2 separate regions of the Homo sapiens genome follow, and region 2 is linked to region 1. Evidence: promoter capture Hi-C in 16 types of primary human blood cells and fetal thymus (Javierre and others, 2016). All regions are on one chromosome and are shown on one strand. The core of a region is centred on a gene start or on the middle of the fragment in contact, and the rest is flanking DNA. Distances in the headings are between cores, read along the strand shown.

Evidence for each region. Contacts are between HindIII fragments. The CHiCAGO score rates a contact against its expected background, and 5 or more counts as called.
Region 2: a contact is called between a fragment that was not itself captured here and the fragment with the promoter of PM20D2 in region 1, in 2 of 17 cell types (fetal thymus and naive B cells). The highest score is 8.5, in fetal thymus.

Annotation. Positions count from the first base shown.
Region 1 is chr6:89,143,353-89,151,204 of GRCh38, reverse strand. PM20D2 (peptidase M20 domain containing 2) reads right to left here and starts at 5,150. Exons shown (of 7, transcript NM_001010853.3): 1 at 4,596-5,150; 2 at 1,792-1,940. The coding sequence starts at 5,060. LOC101929004 (a long non-coding RNA gene) reads left to right here and starts at 4,339. Exons shown (of 4, transcript XR_942766.4): 1 at 4,339-5,512; 2 at 7,372-7,458. RefSeq lists a silencer at 4,404-5,333. The HindIII fragment of the contact is 3,355 bases long and covers 2,737-6,091 here.
Region 2 is chr6:89,604,855-89,612,706 of GRCh38, reverse strand. ANKRD6 (ankyrin repeat domain 6) reads right to left here. Exons shown (of 16, transcript NM_001242809.2): 5 at 6,602-6,700; 6 at 337-435. LOC124901359 (a long non-coding RNA gene) reads left to right here. Exons shown (of 2, transcript XR_007059673.1): 2 at 6,776-7,303. Among named protein-coding and RNA genes, the nearest start is that of MDN1-AS1, 30 kb to the left of the region's middle. RefSeq lists a silencer at 3,126-3,325. The HindIII fragment of the contact is 1,397 bases long and covers 2,145-3,541 here.

The DNA.
Region 1 (7,852 bases), core at 3,901-6,400:
AAAAAAAAATGAATTCTTGATCTTGTTCTCTTTTTTTTTTTCTTTTTTTTTGAGATGGAGTTTCACTTGTCTGGTGGCCAGGCTGGAGTGCAATGGCACGATCTTGGCTCACTGCAACCTCCGCCTCCCAGGTTCATGCAATTCTCCTGGCTCAGCCTCCCAAGTAGCTGGGATTACAGGTGCCCACCATGCCTGGCTAATTTTTGTATTTTTAGTAGAGATGGGGTTTTGCCAAGTTGGCCAGGCTGGTCTCGAACTCCTAACCTCAGGTGATCCACCTGCCTTGGCCTCCCAAAGTGCTGGGATTACAGGTGTGAGCCACTGCACCTGACCTCTCTTTTCTATCTTAAAAGATGACCAATGAAGGCCAGGTGTGATGGCTCATGCCTGTAACCCCAGCACTTTGGGAGGCCGAGGTGGGTGAATCACTTGAGGTTAGGAGTTCAAGACCAGCCTGACCAATACGGTGAAACCCTGTCTCTACTAAAAATATGAAAATTAGCTGGGCGTGGTGGCGCACGCCTGTAATCCCAGCTACTCAGGAGGCTGAGGAAGGAGAATCACTTGAACCTGGGATGCGGAGGTTGCAGTGAGCCAAGATCGTGCCACTGCACTCCAGTCTGAGCAATTGAGTGAGACTCAGCCTCAAAAAAAAAAAAAAAAAAAAAAAAAAGAGATGATCAGTGAGAAAGCTAAGAAGGCAGATACTAGGAGAAGGTCTGGGGTCAAGTGCGCTGACTTCAGAACCAAGACCACGAAGCCTAACCTTAAGTCCCAGAAGGGTAATGAGCTGCAGAGCCTGCCTGCATATGCAGGCCCCTTCTAGTCAAAGGCAAGGGCAGAGATTTCTAATCCCCAGTGTTTTCTAGAGATGGACTAGTTTACCACCACCCTTGAAACCAAAGTTCAAAGATTCCTCCTACTGCCACAGTACCAATTTCCAGTGATAAGAAGGAAGATACCCTAATAGTTAAAATGATCACCCTTTGAAAACAGGGCCTGGTAAGGTGCTAAGAGGTGGGATACCCGGGTACAATCTAGAAGCACTGCTGTGATGGTTCTGCTATCATTCCCTCAGTACCGAGCTACTTCTGAGGAAAACACATGGTTTTGCTGAAGCAGCTGAGCACTGGCTCCTTGTGCCTGGACCATTAACTACTATAGTTACTACTATGGTTGAAATTTCTGGTATAAAAAATCCAAACCACTTCAATGATGTGTGCTCCTAGGTACTAAAAAGTGAGTTCTTCAACATAAAGAAAGACAAATAAAAGGTTTCAGCACCAGACAAATCGGAAAAGCACAGAATGAGAAGTTCCACAAAAACCATAGCTACTCATGTTCCATATTCTCTCTCAGGACATAATTTATCCTCTTTGCAAAGAACTCAAATTAAAGTAAATAAAATGGATAAGTGTGGTTTCTTCCCATAGCTAATAGAACGATCTCTCGCAAATCTATTCAGTTGCAAAGACAATTTCATATGAAAGGACAGATGTTTTCCAGACACCAGATTATTGACAGTTCAAAAGAGAACTTAATTGTCAACATGTTTGTTATTCCTATGGTTTCTAAGTGCTACTATTTTAATACTCCAATTATGAACACCATAATGAATCTCAATTAGAAGAGGCTTGCCAAATGTCACTCCATAGATCAAGACATCTTGTTATTGTCTTTCAATTTACTTCTTAAATATACAAATGTGGAGTTTTCGTCTCTGGTTTAGACATAAAAGTATTCTATAGCCTGTGTTCCCCTAAGAAGTTTATCTTCAACTTGATTACTCACTCATGTTCAGCCATATCTGGTAGATAAGCAGCATTCTCTTGTGATGGGTGGGCCATAAAAACAACATCAAGATTTGTAAAAGCCCCTGCTTCAATTAAATCAATTTTGCCACCACCATCTTCTTCTGCAGGGGTTCCCAGGACAACTACCTAGAAGGAAATACTCATGTCAGGGAAAAACAACAAAATCCTCATAGGAATATATCAAACAGGTTCACCTGCATATGTATTCACAATCTACATTAAAGTCCTTAACCTATTAAGACAGGTTTTGTTCTATGACGCTTACGCAATGGGCATCAACAAATGGTGCTAAATTAATCACAAAATGTACATTGTTATACCAACTTGGTGCAAAGTATGTACTAAAGACACTATAAAAAGCTTTTCCCAATTTTACAAGTCAACTAATGGCAAAGATAAAAAAAAATACTACAAGTTTAGTCCCTCAAAATTTGTTAGGATTTGTTTCAAAAAGGTTCCTCTCGACTAAGCCTTTCAGTGTATGTATGTATATAATTATTCTTAAGTACTTTACGAGTCAGAAACTTTCTGTTAACTTACTACTTATCCTCACAACAACCCTGTGAGGTAGGTGGGTGATCTCTATCATCATTTTACAGGGGGTGTTTTTGAGGAATTGAGTGAAGTGTCTTGCCCCAGGTCACAGAGCAAGTCTTCAGGCAGAATTAGGATTAGATGTCCTGATCTTCTGGCCTAAACTCTGATTCCTTACTGGGCTACCTATTTTAAAAGTCTGAACTCATTAATCCTTTATGAAGAACATTAAACAAGTCTTAATGCCACAGTTAGAAACAGCCAACTATTACACAAACTTACTAATTCGATTCCACCAGTTCAACCAGGCAGATTTATTGGTCACCAAACACCTAATTAAACAAAAGAGAACTTTACAGAATAAACATTTTACTTTGATATTTAAGCTTAACTGCTTCAAACAATTTTAAAAATCAAAATAAACAACTAATATATTTTCAAGATCATGTATAAGAACACAATGAAACAAGCTGGAAAAGTCTTGGCTTGCAAAGGAAATCAACTTAAATTCCATTTTCAGATAATTAATAACTTAACCTTGCTAAAATTGAGAACAACCATTTGAAGTTAGAAGAGTGGGCCGGGAGCGGTGACTCATGCCTGTAATCCTAGCACTGTGGGAGGCCGAGGTGGGCGAATCACCCGAGATCCGGAGTTCGATACCAGCCAGGCCAACATGGCGAAATCCTGTCTCTACTAAAAAATGCAAAAATTAGCTGGGCGTGGTGGCACACACCTGTAATCCCAGCTCAGGAGGCTGAAGCACGAGGATCGCCTGAACCCGGGAGGCGGAGGTTGTAGTGAGCCGAGATAGGACCACTGCACTCGGCCTGGGCGACAGAATGAGACTGTCTCAAAAAAAAAAAAAAAAAAAAAAGAGTGTACATTTCTCAAAGTTTAGCTTTTTTTTGGCGGTTCTACAGTGCTCAAACTCTGACATGAAGCCGCCGCTCTTTTTTTTTTTAAGAGGAGGCCTCGCTCTGTTGCCCAGGATGGAGTGCAGTGGCGCGATGTCGGCTCACTGCAACCTCTGCCTCCTGGGTTCAAGCGATTCTCCTGCCTCAGCCTCCCGAGTAGCTGGGATTACAGGCGTGAGCCACCACGCCCAGCTAATTTTTTTTTTTTTAATATATTTTAGTAGAGACAGAGGTTTCACCATGTTGGCCAGGCGGGTCTCGAACTCCAGACCTCAACTGATCTGCCCACCGCTCTTCATTCTTGACCCTTAACTCATTAAATACGATATGTCTCTCGCTGACTACTCAGAACCTTTAAAAACGTGGTTGAAGCGAAATCTCTCCAGTGTTTGTGACATGGCAAAGCATGCTTCCCCCAACCCAAACAAAAACCTAACAAATGCAAAAACGAGCCTCCAGAGACAGAAAAAAGAAGGCAGCTAAAGTGAAAAAGCCACAAAAGATGTAGTGTTAGGATAAAAGAGGAAGGTTACTGACACTGGGGGAAATGAACTAAAGAGTATGAAAATAAAACATTTGTTTTCCCCTTAACTGAATGACGATTGAATCTTAGCTCATAGTGTAGAATATACCATCTGGAAAAGCAGAGTAAAACAGGATTAAACTTGCCCTACGACAAACATAAACGACATTTCCCTGTTTAAAGAGTCGAGGTATTTCTTAAAATCATAAAACAAAAAAATTAAGACTTAAGGATGAACTCATCTATGTATAATGCTCATTCACTTCCCCTTTATTTGTATACTTCTAGGGGTCTGGTGGTTCTAGCGACTGAAAATTCCTATCCAAATACCAATGACTTGAATCACATTTTCTAGGACTGCCACAAACAAAAGATTTATTTGGAGACGAATAAAAAGGGGCCGTAGGATTACCTACAAGAAGTTATTTCCTCCTGAGATTGATGGCACAACCTTGTCAGCAAATTGCTGTTGCCTCTCTCAGTTACCAAAAATAACCCGTAACAAACACCAGGCTTGGGTGTAAGTTCTTTCCTAAGGGAACAACTCAGCAGAGCTGTTTATAACTAGAGAGGAGGAAACAATAATCTGCAAGATGTCGCCAGGTCGGCAACGCGAACTGACTTTGACTGGGGGTTCAGCTCTGCTCCTGCGCCGAGGCGAGGACCGCAGGTTTAGCGCGGTCCCACACACACCTGCCCCGGGCGGGAGGGCACCGAGGCGCGCGGGACGCACGAGAGTCCCGCCCTTCCCGGGTCGCCCCCGACCCGGGCAGTCGGATAGGGTCCCGCACCCGGGCCCCACCTCACCTTCACGGGCGGAGGCGGCCTGGGGAGGCCCTCTAAGGCCCCCCTCACGCCCAGCGCGGCCGCCGCCCCGACCTCAGCGATGAGGTTGTGGCCGCAGGCGTGGCCGATGCCGGGCAGCGCGTCGTACTCGCAGAGGAAGCCCAGGTGCAGCGGGCGTGGCGTGGCGCTCGGTGCCCGGGCCTCCGGCGGCTCCCACTCGGCGCGGAAGGCCGTGGGCAGCTGGTAGTGCGGCTGCACTGCCCAGGAGGCCGCGGGCGGCTCCCGCTCGAAGAAGTGCGTCAGCACGCGGTGGGCATGGTGCTCCTCGTAGGCCAGCTCGGGCTGGCTCCAGATCGCGCGGCTCAGGGCCCCCAGCCGCTCGGCCGCCTCGTCGATGCACTCCGCCGAGCGCAGCTTCAGTAGCTCCAGCTCGGAGCGGCCATTGCACGCGCCCCCTTCCACGGGCCGCTCCCCTCCGGGCCTCATGCTGCCCAAGCCCGCTGCCCTCTGCGCCCTCTCGCTCCCTGGCTCGGCCGCAGGTAGCGACCGCCCGCGCACGCGCCCAGAGGCCTCCAGGACCCCGGCGGAGCGCGCACGCGGCCACACAGCTCCCAGGGCACCACCCCCAGTCCCGGGGCCGCCCCCGGCGCCGCGCGGGAAACGCTGGCGGCCGCTCGTACCCTACCAGGCGCTCTGCCCCGCCGTGGGGTTTTGGGGGTGCTGTGGAGAAGGCAGGGCTCGGGACTCTTCCACCTCCTTGGCTGCTCTGGCCTTTGAGTTATGCTCTAAGATTATCGATTACTTTTCCGTTGTTGCTTATTTCCCACAGCAGCAGAATGAGAACGGTTATTAGTTAATAGCCATCAGAGACAGACCAAGTGGAACACAGTCCTCGGAAAAACGCCACTCTGTAGCATTAGTAATTAAAACCTCACAAGGTTTGTATTTCCTGAAGGAGGCCGTCAGTGTCAATGCTGTACTAACGACGGTACTGTACGTAAGTTTCGGTACTGCCCCCACTTTCTTCTCCTTGACATTGTATTACTAAAAGCTGCAGCTACTCTCTACAGTTTTCTCATTGGTTACTAATGTCTGGAACAGCAGCTAGATTATGCAGTAAGCTCTTGGTATGTATTAGCTATTATATAATAATTTATTTGAATAGAGTAGAACTAAAAATTTGAAATGAGTTAAAACCAAAGAGTTAAAAGATTTATGGTAGTAAATATTCATACTGTTTTGTTGATTTGGACAGTTGTCTTGAACAGCTTTGAAAGGGAACATATGACAGGTTTCGTTTATAATTTTAATTGATGCTGAACTCCACTAACATGATATGTGCAGCTGGTGTTACATTATAACTGAGTTTTTTAATTACCCAGTGAAGAAATTCAAGATGTCATGCTCTTGTTTTTCTCCAGAGTGAACCACAAAGTCTGAAAAACTGTTGTTGACGGTATGCCTATTAATAACACTGTAGATGTTTATATTCTGAGGTTTTCCACATATTAAAAGCTTCTATCAGCTCTTCATACCCTATCATCTTTCCTTAATTTGTCTCAACTATGTTAAATGGGACACAATATATTAATGTGATAAACCAAATGAATATTTTGAAAATAAGTCTAAGGGAAGCTAACATGCACGAAGACTATCAACTACTGTTTTTACTACTCTATATGCTAATAATACCAGAGTAAATGTCACATTCCATTCACGTCTGAAAACTTTCTTTCTCAGTTAACACTCCAACAAAAACTCAGCTCTAAAAACAACAAATGTGTTATTAAATTCCTGGGCCCCCTTGGCGATAATAAATCTTTCTCTGGTATTCTGCTGAAGAAAATTACCCTGTATCCACGAGATCCAATATTATCCTGCTCAGTTAGTTGGCTAAAAAAAGGGGAGAAGGGGGGATTGGAGAGCAAAAGCAATAGGTGACATTTGTAGAGCAATTACTCTGTGCTAGGCACTGTTCCAAGGGCTTAGCATTTGTTAACTCATTTAATCCTCACAGCAAACTATGAGGTGGTTAATGTGGTTATTTATCTTCATTTTACAGATGTATGTCCAAGATTATAGAGCTAGTAAGTAGTGGACCCACTGTAGAACAGAAGCCAGAGTCAGCCTCCAGTGGCTGACTTTCAGCCACCATGGTCTATTGCTTGTGTAAACAGACATGCAAATTCATAAATGCATCTCCAGTTTATCTATTCAAATCAGAACCCACAACACTCATTTTGAATAAATTTTACTGCAGCAACTCTGCCTGCTGACATCAGTAGAACCCATGTTTGCCCTCCTCAGGCATCAATAAACAGCAACAGAAAAGGGATGCATATAATTTCATATAGAAGCTGCTATTTATATTGCTTTGCAGGAATTAACAAAGCTGCCACTTGAGGTAGAGGAAAGACAGATTCATTTCAAGCTCTGTTCCTTGTGTATATATGTGGGTGGGTGGGTGGGTATACATGCCCACAGGCACGTATGTATTCAGTTTCTACTGTTGACACCTTGTATTTCTTGCTCATGGTATTTTGCACCCTTGAATTCATTTATTTGATAAACTGTGATAACTTGCTGACCGTTTATCTTCCCCTCCAGGCTTTAAACTCTTTTGTTTTCCCACTGCATTCCCCAGCACCTAACATCTTATGGTCAGCATTTCCTCTGTGTTAATAAATATTTGTTGGCTGATTATTCTTCTTGAATCTAATAAACTAACTGAATAATGGCAGCAATTAACCATTAAACGACACTGACTACCAATAGACATTGTTATGCTTCTTCCTAGACTTCTCAGTCCTTTATGTGGAGCTGGGGGCAGGAAGAATTGCTTCTGGAAGCTGATGGAGTTGGACATGTGGCTTTCTAGAATCTGGTCAGCTCATAAATTCTTACTATTACTTTCATTTGTACCCATAATATTCATACAACTGTCTACCCTATCTATGTGCTACTGGTAAGGAACCTGTATGTTTTTATTAGAAACAAAAAAAAATGTATACAAGCTCCCTTCCTTTAGCTGGTGCTGGATCTGAGGAAACAATACAATATCCAGAATTTAGTATTAAGATGTATAACCTTTTTGGGGGGGTGAGAGGAGTGCAGATAGTTCTCTCTTGAGGACTGGTTTTAAAGTATATAAATGTTCTTTCTTGGCTCCTGATGAGAAAAAAGGGGAAAAAATATATAAAGATTCCTCTTCTTTCCTGGCTGCTTAGAAAACCAGCTGTCATCACAACTGACTCAATAACTTTGAGAACAGGACATTC
Region 2 (7,852 bases), core at 1,594-4,093, 460 kb before region 1:
TCAACACTCTATGTGGGTAGAGACTTTCTTAAAACATTAACTGGTTTCCTAGTCTGTAATTGGCCAGACACGTACTGTAAGAAATGATAAACCAAAGATGAGGCATGAAGGGAAAATGATGGGAGAAAAGCAGTATTTCCAAGTCTTTTGATTCTTCTTCTCACATGCCTGAATGATCCCTTAGAAAATTGCCAAAAAAAGAACACTTTAGAGATAGTCCCCAAATACTTTTTACATTTTAATTTCTAGATGTTAAGGTTCAAGTATGCTCATGAAGTTATTTTCTGAAGTGACACAAGAAAGAGAGAACGTGAGAATCTGGTTTTGTTCACCCACATTATTTTTGAGGTCAGCGCGGGACCCGGCCAGCAGGAGGACGCGCGTGCTCTGGGAGTGGCTGTTCTGGCAGGCCAGGTGCAGAGCTGTGTTCCCCGCCTTGGAGAGAGGCAGAGAGAGGGAGGACATATTAGCAACATGCTTCCGCACAGACTTGCATGCCTTGCAGAGGGGCAGTACTTACTCGGGGGAAAAGGCAACGCTCACATTCTCTGCCTCTTGCCCGATGGTTTCAGTGGGGATGCTTCAGAGGTAAGAACATTTAATTTGGAGTCTGAACAGGCAGAAGAGTCCTATTTGTCATAAAACCTTGGTTCCAAGTCCTGGCTCTGCAACTTACTAACTAAAAGCCAGCCTTTTCAAATGCTCAAATTCCTTACCTGGGAAATGGAGCATGACCCCCACATCCTAAAACTATGGGGATTGACTCAGAGTGTCTAGGAAGGTGTTTTCTTAACACACAATGCTGGACACATGCACAGTACTCAATTCCTATCAGATGACTTCCTGCCCCACATGGGCAATAGCTGTGGTTACAATCCCTGCCAATGGTGGGCTAAAAAAAGTAAAACTAGCCACTTCCTGGAAGGGCAGGCTAATGCAACTGAGATTTAACTTGTTAGCCTTTTTCAAGTCACCCATTCTTGTATTTTTCTTGAAACATCAAAATTTTAACTATGGACACCAGGCCCTGCCTTTCAGGCAGTACAGTTGCATCTATCACTTAGGACACAGATTGAGACCCTCTTGCTTTTTGGGTCCTTCTTGTTTTTGAGAACCTCAACAAACCACATCACAATGACAACCAAGGGTCAGAATAAGGTCCATAGCAATACTGCAGGAAAAAATTGCAGGACATGAACAGAACTTTTGAGTCTATGGGAGTAGGGCATGTGAGGCCGCTGATAACCCCTAGAAAAGTAACAAGAAAGCAAGGCCGTGTGATAGGTGACATTGTGTCATCCAAGAGCCTGCAAGCACTCAGGAGGTTAAACACAGAAGCTCCGCGTTGGTTCTGCTGAGCTCAAGTGCTGGGTCAGGCTTGCAGGTGCGTGGGCTCAGAGCATTACACTGCCTGTTCATTGCTTCTCCCTCACCTAGTTCACACCCTTCTGGATCTCACAGTCCTGGCTGCCGATACTCCAGTATATCAGATTCCTGATCTTTTAAAAAGAGAAATGAGTTAAAAAAAAAAAAAATAGAGGAATACTGGATGCGGCCAGTTTGCTTATCCCCCTTCTCTTCACCTTAGCTCCAACCAGCCCTGGTGGACCTTTTGTCTCACTTTTACCTCCAGGCACAGGGAGGATTACAGGCCTGAGGTTCTAGCAGGCTCGCTGGTTCTCAACCCTTGGGTGCACATTAGAATCACCTGGGGAAGCTTTCAAACCAGCCCTGTGCACAGCCACAACCGTTCTAGGGACTCTGATTTATGTGGCCTTGGGGATGGGTATCCAGCATCCCTATTTTAGTACTGAAAGTCCCACATTCCGGGAAACCCTTTAGCCCAGGGCAAACTGGGACAGTCCATCACCCCAGGCCTGGTCTTCAGGTTTTTTTTTTTTTTAAGTTTTGTTTTTTTTCCTTTTTCGTTTGTTTATAGTTCCCCAGGAGGGTCTAATGTGCAGCCAGGTGGAGAACCACTGCTAGTTTAGTTCTCAGCAACAAGGGGTCTGCCCAGGTTTTAAAAACACTACTCTCAAGTTGTCTGCAAGTTATGGGCTTCATGGCAACCACTAAATACGTGTTGAATACATGAGTGAAATGAAAGAAATCTGATGCCTCTAGAAATAGATCATACCAAAGCTTATATTGCCAATAAGGAAATATCGATGATGTGGAAAAGCATTTGCACCAAGAAAATTAAAAACCATAGGTTTGGATAAACAAATTGTGGTAGATCCACACAATGGAATACTCCTCAGCAATAAAGAGGCGTGAACCATTCCTCCATGTAACGACACGGAGGAATCTCAAAAACATTATGCTAAGTTTAAGAAGCCACACACAGAAGGCCGCATACTGTATGATTCCATTTACATGACCTTTATGAACAAGCAAAACAGATCCGTGGTTGCCCGGGGCTGGGAGAGGGTGACTGGGGGCCTGCCACCAGAGGGCGCAAAGGAACATTAAGGGGCAATGGAAACATTCTATATCTTATGGTGGGGGTTACACAACCGTATACATTTGTCAAAACTCACAGAACAGCGTGACTTCATACCTATATCTCAAAACCTGACATTAGAAAATGTGACCTAGGGTAGATATATATGTAGCAGGCGTTTTTCCCCACCCTGAGTAGTGGGTACTGATTTCCCAGACAGGAGCTGCTACATCTGCTGAATAAGAAGGATCTTTCTACGGGCTATGGCTGGTACAAAATGTCCCTCCCTTTGAGACGCATGAGTTTCCTGACCTGTCCTTCTGAAGCCATTTTATTTACACAGAAACAATTTCTGGGCTGGGTGCAGTGGTTCACGCCTGTAATCCATCACCTTGGGAGGCCGAGGTGGGTGGATCACAAGATCAAGAGATCAAGACCATCCCAGCCAACATGGTGAAACCTCGTCTCTACTAAAAATACAAAAATTAGCTGGGCATGGTGGTGTGTGCCTGTAGTCTCAGCTACTCAGGAGGCTGAGGCAGCGTAATAGCTTGAACCCGGGAGGCAGAGGTTTCAGCAAGCCGAGATCGCGCTCCAGCCTGGCAACAGAGTGAGACTCTGTCTCAAAACAAACAAACAAACAAAAAAACGTGGTGATTACAGGCCGGGTTCGGTGGCTCACTCCTGTAATCCCAGCACTTTGGGAGGCCAAGGTGAGTGGATCACCTGAGGTCAGGATTTCAAAACCAGTCTGGCCAACATGGTGAAACGCTGTCTCTACTAAAAATACAAAAATTAGCTGAGCGTGATGGCAGGTGCCTGTAATCCCAGCTACTCGGGAGGGTGAGGCAGGAGAATCGCTTGAACCCGGGAGGCGGAGGTTGCAGTGAGCCGAGATTGAGCCATTGCACTCCAGCCTGGGCAACAAGAGTGAAACTCTGTCTCAAAAAGAAAAAAAAAAGTGATTACACACCATCAACTCCTGTTCCAGACCATATGCATTTTGAAGAAATGGGCAGCCACCCACCTCCTGAGCTGTGAGCCAGGCACTACCGGCGATATTACCATACGTAGCTTGCTGCTCTCAGACCTCAAGCTTTTGATCCATGAGGGAACCATGAAAAATATGAACTAGGAAACGACAGCACAAAGCTGCATGCGGTGCCAAGGGAGAGTTGCAGAAGCAGCCCAGTGGGTCTTCGGGGAGGGAGAGGGCCTGGGGCCAGGTTGGAGGTCTATAGGCAGGAATGAGAAGCAGGCCAGTGAGCCCCACTCTGAGGGCACAGGAGGTGCTCTAGGGGAAAGGAGCCAGGAGGAACTCCAGAGGTGGGCCAGCAGAGGCTTATAGACAGTGTCAGACAGGAGCTTTATGAGAAGGTCGCTGAGCAGAGGAAGAGCAGGATGAAAGGAGGGACTAGATTTGAGCCTGCCAATCTGCTTGAGGCATCTGAAATAATCCAGGGCATGCTTAAGAATGAGCATGGAAAGAGGAACAGGTGTGAGACTTGAAGATGTCCTAAGATGTAATGAGGGACTGGAGAGGGGAGACGGATGAAAATGACGAAGGCATGGCTTGCTTAACTATGCTCTCTAATGAACCAATGGAAAAGTAGTGAGAGCCAGGAGATTTCACCGGAGGGCAAAGCCACTGAGGTGGGTTCTCTTGCTCCCACAGAGATTACGTTCACAAAGGAGTTTCAGGCTGTCATTTCTATTTCCTGCAGCATGCAAGGTCTGGAGAAGTCACTTCATTGATGGGGTATATTTCTATAGCTTGATTTGCCTGGCATTGCTGTTGAAGATCTTGTATGCAGATGTCTGTGTGTCATAAGCTAGAGATACTATGGTTTCAGATTTGACTTGGCCATGAAATTGTACATATATATATATATATAGTGTGTGTGTGTGTATTAGGGAGGGTACTTACTGCTGCCCATTGTCCCCAGGCTACTGCCACCTAGAACCCCATTCTAGCCCACCTGATTCATTATCCTACCACTATTAGCTGAAGCTACCACTCTGTGATGTGGCAGTGCACTGTGGGAAATTCTCAGGCCCCTGCTACAGACCCAATCTGGCCATCCAGGGAAAGAAAAGAGGGTAAGCCCTTTTATGACCCTTCTTACCTCAACTGCAAATATCTCCAGAGTACTGATAACGCTTTTTTATTTTTGAGATAAAGTATATCTCTTGGCATGGGCACAGTGGCTCACGCCTGTAATCCCAACACTTTGGGAGGCCGAGGTGGGCAGATCACGGGGTCAGGAGTTCAAGACCAGCCTGGCCAACATGGTGAAACCCCATCTCTACTAAAAATAGAAAAATTAGCCAGGCGTGGGGGCACATGCCCAGATACTTAGGAGGCTGAGGCGGGCAGATCACGGGGTCAGGAGTTCAAGACCAGCCTGGCCAACATGGTGAAACCCCATCTCTACTAAAAATGGAAAAATTAGCCGGGCGTGGGGGCACATGCCCAGCTACTTAGGAGGCTGAGGCAGGAGAATCGCTTGAACTCAGGAGGCAGAGGTTGCAATAAGCCGACAGTGTGCCATTGCACTCCAGCCTGGGTGACAGAACGAGATTCTGTATCCAAAAAAAAAAAAAAAAAGTCTCTTCTCCCAATTGTAAAAGAAATAATGGGTTCATTCTGGAAAATTTGGGAAAGGTACAAAAATAAAAATCAATCTTAGCCTCAATTCCCAGAGATAACCACTGTTAATATTCTGATGATATTCTTCTGTGCTTAAATTTTTAAATACACAAATTTATATTAAGCACTGGGACATGTACTATATATGATCTTATATCTCTTTGTGATGTTCTTTAACAGTGGAAAGCATTATTTTCAAAACTACGATTTTAATATTAATTATATTCCACTGTATGAATGAACCATAATTCTAAGTCTCCCTCCCCACAGTTAAAAAAATATAACTACTGCTGTCATGAACATCTTTGTCGGTAAAATTTTACTGGTTTTATTGCTTATTTTTTTCTTTTCCATATTTCATTTCAATAGCAGGTTTTATTACCTTTTTAGGATAGAGTCCAAGAAAGGTAGGTACCAAGTAAAAAGGACCTTTTTTTTTTTTTTGAGACCGGGTCTCACTCTGTCACCCAAGCTGGAGTACAGTGGCACGAACTAAGCTCACTGCAACTTCCGCCTACCAGGTTCAAGCGATTCTTGTGTCTCAGCCTTCCGAGTAGCTGGGATGACGGCATGCACCACCACATCCAGCTAATTTTTTGTATTTTTAGTAGAAACAGGGTTTCACCATGTTGGCCAGGCTGGTCTTGAATGCCTGGTCTCAAGTGATCCGCCTGCCTCAGCCTCCTAAAAGTTTGGGATTACAGGCATAAGCCACTGCACCTGGCCAAAAAAGGCCCACCCCCGCCCCCACCTGCCCCCACGACAGTCTCTCACTCTGTGCCCAGGCTGGAGTGCAGTGGTGCAATCTTGGCTCACTGTAACCTCTGCTTCCTAGGTTCAAGCGATTCTCCTGCCTCAGCCTCCCAAGTAGCTGGGACTACAGGCATGAGCCACCATTCCCGGATAATTTTTGTATTTTTATTAGAGATGGGGTTTCACCATGTTGGCCAGGCTGGTCTCAAACCCTTGACCTCAGGTGATCCACCCACCTCAGCCACCCAAAGTGCTGTGATTACAGGTGTGAGCCACCATGCCAGGCCAAAAAAGGACCATTTTAAGGCTCCTGATTTGTTTTGCCAAATTGTCTCCCAAAGGTGGCTATTCGTATCACACTTTCCCAGCAGCATCTAGGGGAGCCCACTTTACTAATTTTCGGTATTAGCATTTTAAAGTTCTTTTGCTGATTTTTTTAATGCCAACTCCATTGCCATATTTTTTGAATACAAAAAAACTATGGGACAGTAATCGCATGTAGATTCCCAGCAGCAGTCAGGGGCCTCTCACATAAGCAGGGTTTTGGCGCTGTTGGTGCACTTGCTCCTGACCTGGAATATCAATCAGCTTCTAGCCTTTTCTGCAAATGAAACTTCTGGGCCGAATGGACCTTCAGGTTCCTCGTGCCACTCTGGGCTCTCACTCTTCTCACTGGAAGAAGGCTCCCACAGGGGGAGAAACCCACAGCCATCCTCACCTGTGAATGAGGCATTCTAGCATCTGCCAGGCCTCACCTTGTTCTTGGCAAGCACGTTGGCTCCTGCTTTAATGAGCAGCTTGGCTGACTGGCTGAAACCATGCCAGGATGCTTCATGCAAGGCTGTATTCCCATCCTAAGGAAGACACACAGGTGGGAAAGGCACATTACCCAAGACCTAATTCTTCTCATTATGATCAATACATCACAGTGGATTTTTACGGAACACCAGACGGCCTTTCTCAATTGGACTTTCTCATCTGAGCCACAGACTACAGAAGATGATTTGAGTGGTAAGTTTCTCCATTATCCCAGAAATGATACATCATAAGAACCATTCTAGATGCACAGAAGAGAAATGAATCCATGACGAACCATGGATGATTGTTCATAAGGCATTAGAGGTTAAGTCTCTCTAGGAACCCCAGTTGAGAGAGGCTCTAGGCCCCATCCACAGCTCTCGTTTAACAGAAAGCATCATCAGGATAGCATGCCATCTATTTCTTCCCACCTCCACCACCCTTAGAGTCTGCTCTGCTCCTGGCATCAGAGAGAACCCTGCAAAGATCAGGCAAAGGAAGAGGCCATCTTCATAAGATTCAGGGGCCTGATCGATTCCCCAACTTTTTTTCACTGAAACTTAATCTCACCCACCTTAATTCAAAAGCCTCAGGGCCCCAAACAAATAATGAACAGGGACTGAGGAAACAGTGATTTGGAAATAAAACAAACAAGTATCCTCAATGTGTGGCCTTTATTTTTTGAGACAGTCTTGTTCTGTCACCTAGAGTGGAGTGCAGTGGTGTGATCTCAGCTCACTGCCACCTCTGCCTCCAGAGTTCAAGCGATTCTCCTGCCTTAGCCTCCCAAGTAGCTGGAATTACAGACATGCACCACTATGCCTTGCTAATTTTTGTATTTTTAGTAGAGACAGGGTTTCACTATGTTGGCTAGGCTGGTCTTGAACTCCTGACCTCAAGTGATCCACTTGGCTTCCCACAGTGCTGGGATTACAGGCGTGAGCCACCGTGCCCGGCCTAATGTGTTGCTTTTAAATAGAAGTCATTTAATGAACATAGCTCGTATTTGCTTAGCTTACTATTTTAAACAAATAAATATCATTAAGTGCAATGAATTGAGTGGGGTGGGGGCGGGAAGGCAGGAGTTCCAGGGAGGGAAGAGCCCGGAGAAGGAAGGGTGCAGGGCAATCAGCAGAGGTCAGTGCAGGTGCATTCTCCAATTACATCCAGGCTCTGGCTTCAGCTTTAACTCAACCACATCCATGCCC